Regions from separate parts of the Homo sapiens genome. Here region 1 is linked to region 2. The links are contacts of gene promoters, found by promoter capture Hi-C in blood cells and fetal thymus (Javierre and others, 2016). All regions are on one chromosome and are shown on one strand. The core of a region is centred on a gene start or on the middle of the fragment in contact, and the rest is flanking DNA. Distances in the headings are between cores, read along the strand shown.

Region 1 (3,791 bases), core at 501-3,000, 390 kb before region 2:
GAACCTCCTGAGGCTGTGTTGTGGGTACGTCCTTAACCTTGGCAAAATAAGCTTTTCTATATTGATTGAGATCTGTCTCAGATATTTTGGATTCACAGTGTGTCCTTACAGGCATTTCCGAGATTACTTTCATGTTTGGTGAATTGCTAGAAGGACTCATAGGGCTCAACATACAGTCATACCTATGGCTAGGATTTATCACAGCAAACCGATACAAAGAGAAATAGTAAATGGAAAAAATGCGTTGGACAAAACCTGGAGGAAACGAGGTGCAAGCTTCTAAGCGTCCTCTCCCAGCGGAGTCCATAGGATATGCTTAATTTCTCCAGCATCAGACTGAGAGAACAGGTGTGAATGTTGTAAACTGGGGAAGCTTGTCTGTGCCTAGGAGTCCAGGGTTTTTATGAAGGGTCAATTTCATAGGCACTCTTTGCCTAGCATGTATCAAATTACCAGACCCTCAGAAGGAAAGCAGGTGTCTAGCATAAACCACATTGTACAAACATTTAAGCATTCCCTAATTGACAAACTGATTAGCCCGTCTTAACAGTTAGCGAATAGGGAAAATACTCCCCAAATCCAAGTTCCCAGATACCAGCCCAGGGACAGTCTTTCAAGCAGCCCTTTCTAAGGACAGAAGTCTCAGGCCTGCTGTGTGAACCTTTTCTGTACAGTGGGGATGCCAGCTCACTTGACCACAATGAGGCACTATGCCATCAGCACTCTGGTGGGACCACCAAAGGATGGCCAGGTGTATCGACACACCTGTGTCTGCTGCAGACAGGGGACCACAGCAACTATATGTTGTGCAGCTCCTGGAAATCTGGTGTTCCTGTGACATCCACCAAACTGGGTTCTCTGCTTCTCGATGTCACCAGCCTCCCACTTAAAGTTCAAGATGTATTTGTTTGACCAATCCAAGATGAGAACCTGGCATTTTTTTGCTTCTGCAGTGGGGGTTGGGCTCTGTCTCCCAGCAAGGCTCATAGATGAGTGTATTAGTTTTCTAGGGATCTCCTAGCAAGGTACCACAGACTGGGTGACTTAAGCAACAGAAATTACTTTTCCCACAATTCTGGAGGCTAGAATTCCAAAATCAAGGTGTGGGCAGGATTGGTTTCTTTTGAGGCCTCTCTTCTTAGCTTGTAGATTGCCATCTTCCCTCCCTGTGTGTCTGTCTTAATCCTTCATCTCCTTCTCCTTTTTTTTTTTCCATTTAAAAAATTGTAGTGGAATACACATAACAAATTTTAACATTTTAAACATTTTTAAGTGTACAGTTATATCAACGTATTAATTTGGCATAAAAGTAATTGCAGTTTTTCCCATTAAAGGTAATGGCAAAACAGCAATTACTTTTGCATCTACTATTACAGACCTTCATAATGATGTGCAAATATCATTACCATCTACCTCCAGAACTCTTCATGCTGTAAAACTGAAACTCTATACCCATTAAACACTAACTCCCTATTCTCCTTTCTCCTGAGCTCTCTGAGCCCTATGTTTTCTTCTAAGCATCTATAGTTTTAGGTCTTACATTTAGGTCTTTGATCCATTTTTTAGTTAATTTTTGTATATGGTGTTAGGTAAGGGTCCAGTTTCATTCTTTTGCTTGTGGATGTTCAGATTTCCCAGCACCATTTGTTGAATAAACTGTCTTTTGCCATGGAATGGTTTTGGCACCTTTGTCAAAAATCAGTAAATCCAGCTGGGCAGGGTGGCTCATGCCTGCAATCCCGCAACTTTGGGAGGCTGAGGTGGGTGGATCACCTGAGGTCAGGAGTTTGAGACCAGCCTGGCTAACATGGTAAAACCCTGTTTCTACTAAAAATACAAAAACCAGCCAGGCATGGTGGTGGGCTCCTGTAACCCCAGCTACTCAGGAAGCTGAGGCACGAGAACCGCTTGAACCCAGGAGATAGAGGTTGCAGTGAGCCGAGGTCCCGCCACTGCACTCCAACCTAGGCGACAAGAGTGAAGCTCTGTTTCAAAAAAAAAAAATTAATAAACCCCATGTGAGGGTTTATTATTTCTGGGCTCTCTATTCCATTGGTCTATATGTTATCTTTATGCCAGTTCCACACTGGTTTGATTACCATAGCTTTGTAGTAAGTTTGAAATCAGGAAGTATGAATTTTCCAGCTTTGCTGTTCTTTTTCAAGATTGTTTTGGCTGTTCATGGTCCTTTGAGATTCCATGTGAATTTTAGGATGGGGTTTTCTATTTCTTTGAAAAACATCATTAGGATTTTGTTAGGGATTGCATTGAATCTGTAGATTGCTTTGGGTAGTATTGACATCTTAGTAGTAGTAGTTTTCCAATCCATGAATGTGGGATGTGTTTCCATTTATTTATGTCTTCTTTATTTTATTTATTCACTTATTTTTATTATTTTTTTTTTGAGACAGGGTCTCACTCTGTTGCCCAGCCTGGAGTGCAGTGGTGCAATCATGACTCACTGCAGCCTCAACCTCCAGGGCTCAGGGAATCCTCCTACCTCAGCCTCCTGAGTAGCTGAGACTACAGGTGTGTGCCACCACGTCTGTCGCATTTTTGTATTTTTTCTTTTTTGTAAAGATGGGGTTTCACTATGTTTCCCAGACTGGTCTTGAACTTCTGGGCTCAGGTGATCCTTTCACCTCAGCCTCCCAAAGTGTTGGGATTATAGACATGAGCCACCGTGCCCAGCCTATGTCTTCTTTATTTCAGCAATGTTTTGTAGTTTTCATTCTACAAATCTTTCACCCCCTTGGTTAATTCCTAAGTATTCTATTCATTTTGTTACTGTTGTACATGGAATTGTTTTTGTAATTTCCATTTCAGATTGCGCATTGTTAGTGTTTAGAAATGCAACTAGTTTTTGTGTGTTGATTTTGTATCTTACTACTTTGCTGAATTCATTTATTAGTTCCAGCTTTTTTTTGGGTGAAATACTTAGGGTTTTCTACATATGAAAATCATATCATCTCTGAACGGAGATAATTTTGCTTCTTTTTTTTTTTCCAATTGGATGTTTTTATTTCTTTTTCTTGACGAATTTCTCTTGCTAGAATTTCCACTGCTATGTTGAAGTGGCAAAAGTGGGCATCCTTGCCTTCTTCCTGATCTTAGATAACAAGCTTTTAGTCTTTTACCATTGAGTATGACATTTGTTGTGGGTTTTTCATAAATGGGTTTTATTATATTGAGGTTTTTTTTTTTTTTTTTTTTTTTTAGACGGAGTCTCACTCTGTTGCCCAGGCTGGAGTGCAGTGTACTCTTGGCTCACTGCAGCTTGTGCCTCCCAGGCTCAAACAATTCTCTGACTTCAGCCTCCTAAGTAGCAGGGATTACAGGCATGTGTCACCATGCTTGGCTAATTTTGTATTTTTAGTAGATACGGGGTTTCACCATGTTGGCCAGGCTGGTCTCGAACCCCTGACCTCAGGTGATCCACCCACCTTGGCCTCCCAAAGTGCTGGGACTATAGGCATGAGCCACTGCCCCTGGCCAACTGAGGTATTTATTTATTTATTTTTTGCATTCCTACTTTGTTGAGGCTTTTTTTTTTTTTGTCATGAAAGGCTGTTGAATTTTGTCACATGCTATTTTTTCTGCATCAATTGAGATGATCATGTGGTTTTTTTCCCCTTCATCCTGTTAATGTTGTATGTCACATTGGTCAATTTTTGTATGTTGAACCATCCTTGTTTGAGGACTAAATCCTACTTGGTTATGGTGTATAAGGCTTTTAATAAGCTGCTGAATTTGGTTTGCTAGTATTTTTTGACAATGTTTGCATCCATGTT
Region 2 (3,491 bases), core at 621-3,120:
CGCTTGAACCTGGGAGGCAGAGGTTGCAGTGAGCTGAGATCACACCACTGCACTCCAGCCTGGCGACAGAGCAAGACTCCGCCTCAAAAGAAACAAATAAACAAAAATTAGTCAGGCATGGTGGTGTGCACCCGTAGTTCCAGCTACTTGAGAGGCTGAGAGGTGGGAGGATGGCTTTGGCCTGGGAGGTTGAGGCTGCAGTGAGCCATGATTGTGCCACTGCACTCCAGCCTGGGTGACAGAGTGAGATCTTGTCCTAACATATACATGTATATATACACACACACTGGTTTTAGCTAAATTGATTATAACTCAGGGACCGTGAGCTTAGGATGGACAGAGGTGCATAACATTGATTACTTTTGTTCCAATATTGACTTTTTTCTATATGAGTGATTCATTTAAATTTGGAGGGTGGAATAAATTGATATTAGTTTCCAGTCTAACTGGAATATCTGCAGCCAGAGGACAAAGTACAAGGACTTATCAGAGAGGAGACAATGAAGCTCCATGCTCTGGAAAAAGGAAACAAGAGGCTGAGGGAATGAGATAGCTTCTAAGGAGGGAGCTTACAAAGGCCCCTCCTCCCCTGGCTCTTGCCCCGTGGGCCAGGCTAATTTGCATTTCAATGAGGACTTAATACTACTGAAGATTTTATGAAACGCCTAAGCTTCTCAAATGTTTGTTACTTTTGTTACCCTAGCTGAAATCTGCAATTACCAGTATTTTTAAAAAATCCTAAAATGAAGAGAAGAGGCCTGTGGGTGTTCAGTCAAGGAGGGAGGGGTCAAGTCTCAGTCCAGGAACTACTCTGTGCTGGGAGAAGCAGCCAGATACGGCACAGGTCGCGGTAGCCGAGAAAGAAAGCGAGAGAAAGGGTGAGCCGGGGAGTCGCTGGGCCAGACTGAAGTGTGCCTGTGTAGAATAACTGGCAGGAGAGCTGCATTTTCTGACCCCGGGAGGTAAAAGACGACGCCGTCCTTGGCACTGAGTGCGGTGACCACCAAGAGGAGCAAAAGTCATGAGTCTCCGACCCCCAGGCCCCCGGCTCAGCTGCCTCCACTCCACCCTACTCTTCTCAGCCCCAGCCCAGAAAGCAGGCAGCGAGGCAGGTCTTTGAACCGGACCAGGTTCCTTCCCCAAACACCCGGATCCAGAGAGGGGCAGGAATTCCCTAGTCATTTTCCCCTGCTCCTCCCCACATCATCCGCCCGAGGGGCGGCAGATCCAGCGGAAGCTGTCCGTGGTGCTGACTCCTGCCTTTGGCTTGGCCGGACCCGCTGCCCGCTGAGCGCGCTGCAGCCAAGCAGGGGGCTCGTGTGGCGGGGCCACGGGAGGGTGAGGGTCCTCAGGTCCGCGACCAGCTCCAGGCTCTGCTGTTAAATCCCAGCCCGAGCCCTCTAGCGTCTCTGCCCTCCGCAACCTGGCCGCTAGGCAGGATCCAGCCTTTAAGAACGGGTCAGTCGTGCCTCTCTCAAGCCCCCAGCTGCATTGCAATCTCCCACCGCTACTTCCTTCCCCGCTCCTTCCCTCCTAAGACTGCACCGGCTCCTCCCGATAGCCTGACGCTTCGCGCCTCTCCTCCGCCCTCCTCCACTGTGCGCTCCTCCGGACCCTGACCCTCCAGGGGCCGTGCAAGCTCCTGCAGTAGAGATTCGTCCTCTTCGCTGCTCTGGCCAGGTTTGCCGGCCCCTCCTCCCGTTTCGGATTCCATCCTCCCCACACTGTCCTCTTCACTAGTTCTCTAAGCACCGAGCATGGCAGAGCGCGCTCCACCCCTATTTTCCATACATGGGAGCTGGAGTGGGGGGCGGAGCTGAGGGGAGGCGCTCCCAGTCCCTCTAAGAAGCTGCTAGCCCACTGGGAAACATTTGGATCCGTTCAGCTCCCGCGGAGAAGCGAGACCGGATCACCGACGTGGGCAGAGGACTACCGAGGGCCAGCAGAAATTCTGCCCCTTCTTCCCGCGAGTGCTTTCCCGCTCTCCAAACCCCACTCCCAGGTAGGATCGCGCTCCTGAGTCTGCCTGCGTGGACTGCGAGGACCGTAAATAGAGGCGGAAGCGTTTAAATAAACCGTATGTTCTAACCGTGCTTAGGTTTATTTTACAGAGGTGAGAGGACAACACTTTTTGCTACTTTTGCTGTTGTTCTGTGGCCGGTTATTCCCAAGGGAGGACTCAGGCGATGGGGGAGGGGCGCGGCTGGTGTAGGAGGTCGGATGGAGTATGGCAAGGGAAGTGACGGACTTTGATTACCTTTGAACAGGTGGCCATGGCCTCATCGACCACTCGGGGCCCCAGGGTTTCTGACTTATTTTCTGGGCTGCCGCCGGCGGTCACAACTCCCGCCAACCAGAGCGCAGAGGCCTCGGCGGGCAACGGGTCGGTGGCTGGCGCGGACGCTCCAGCCGTCACGCCCTTCCAGAGCCTGCAGCTGGTGCATCAGCTGAAGGGGCTGATCGTGCTGCTCTACAGCGTCGTGGTGGTCGTGGGGCTGGTGGGCAACTGCCTGCTGGTGCTGGTGATCGCGCGGGTGCGCCGGCTGCACAACGTGACGAACTTCCTCATCGGCAACCTGGCCTTGTCCGACGTGCTCATGTGCACCGCCTGCGTGCCGCTCACGCTGGCCTATGCCTTCGAGCCACGCGGCTGGGTGTTCGGCGGCGGCCTGTGCCACCTGGTCTTCTTCCTGCAGCCGGTCACCGTCTATGTGTCGGTGTTCACGCTCACCACCATCGCAGTGGACCGCTACGTCGTGCTGGTGCACCCGCTGAGGCGGCGCATCTCGCTGCGCCTCAGCGCCTACGCTGTGCTGGCCATCTGGGCGCTGTCCGCGGTGCTGGCGCTGCCCGCCGCCGTGCACACCTATCACGTGGAGCTCAAGCCGCACGACGTGCGCCTCTGCGAGGAGTTCTGGGGCTCCCAGGAGCGCCAGCGCCAGCTCTACGCCTGGGGGCTGCTGCTGGTCACCTACCTGCTCCCTCTGCTGGTCATCCTCCTGTCTTACGTCCGGGTGTCAGTGAAGCTCCGCAACCGCGTGGTGCCGGGCTGCGTGACCCAGAGCCAGGCCGACTGGGACCGCGCTCGGCGCCGGCGCACCTTCTGCTTGCTGGTGGTGATCGTGGTGGTGTTCGCCGTCTGCTGGCTGCCGCTGCACGTCTTCAACCTGCTGCGGGACCTCGACCCCCACGCCATCGACCCTTACGCCTTTGGGCTGGTGCAGCTGCTCTGCCACTGGCTCGCCATGAGTTCGGCCTGCTACAACCCCTTCATCTACGCCTGGCTGCACGACAGCTTCCGCGAGGAGCTGCGCAAACTGTTGGTCGCTTGGCCCCGCAAGATAGCCCCCCATGGCCAGAATATGACCGTCAGCGTGGTCATCTGATGCCACTTAGCCAGGCCTTGGTCAAGGAGCTCCACTTCAACTGGCCTCCTAGGGCACCACTCGAGGTCAATCTGGTGCTTATTCTCAGCACCAGAGCTAGCTAAG

The links. Contacts are between HindIII fragments. The CHiCAGO score rates a contact against its expected background, and 5 or more counts as called.
Region 1: a fragment that was not itself captured here is called in contact with the fragment with the promoter of PRLHR in region 2 in 1 of 17 cell types (M1 macrophages); the score reaches 5.1 in M1 macrophages.

Annotation. Positions count from the first base shown.
Region 1 is chr10:118,988,131-118,991,921 of GRCh38, reverse strand. All of the region lies in intron 2 of LINC03036 (long intergenic non-protein coding RNA 3036), which reads left to right. Among named protein-coding and RNA genes, the nearest start is that of LINC03036, 40 kb to the left of the region's middle. The HindIII fragment of the contact is 2,749 bases long and covers 376-3,124 here.
Region 2 is chr10:118,594,027-118,597,517 of GRCh38, reverse strand. PRLHR (prolactin releasing hormone receptor) reads left to right here and starts at 1,870. Exons shown (of 2, transcript NM_004248.3): 1 at 1,870-2,002; 2 at 2,268-3,491. The coding sequence starts at 2,274. The coding sequence ends at 3,386. RefSeq lists enhancers at 485-1,293, 1,294-2,102, 2,103-2,911. The HindIII fragment of the contact is 5,195 bases long and covers 673-3,491 here.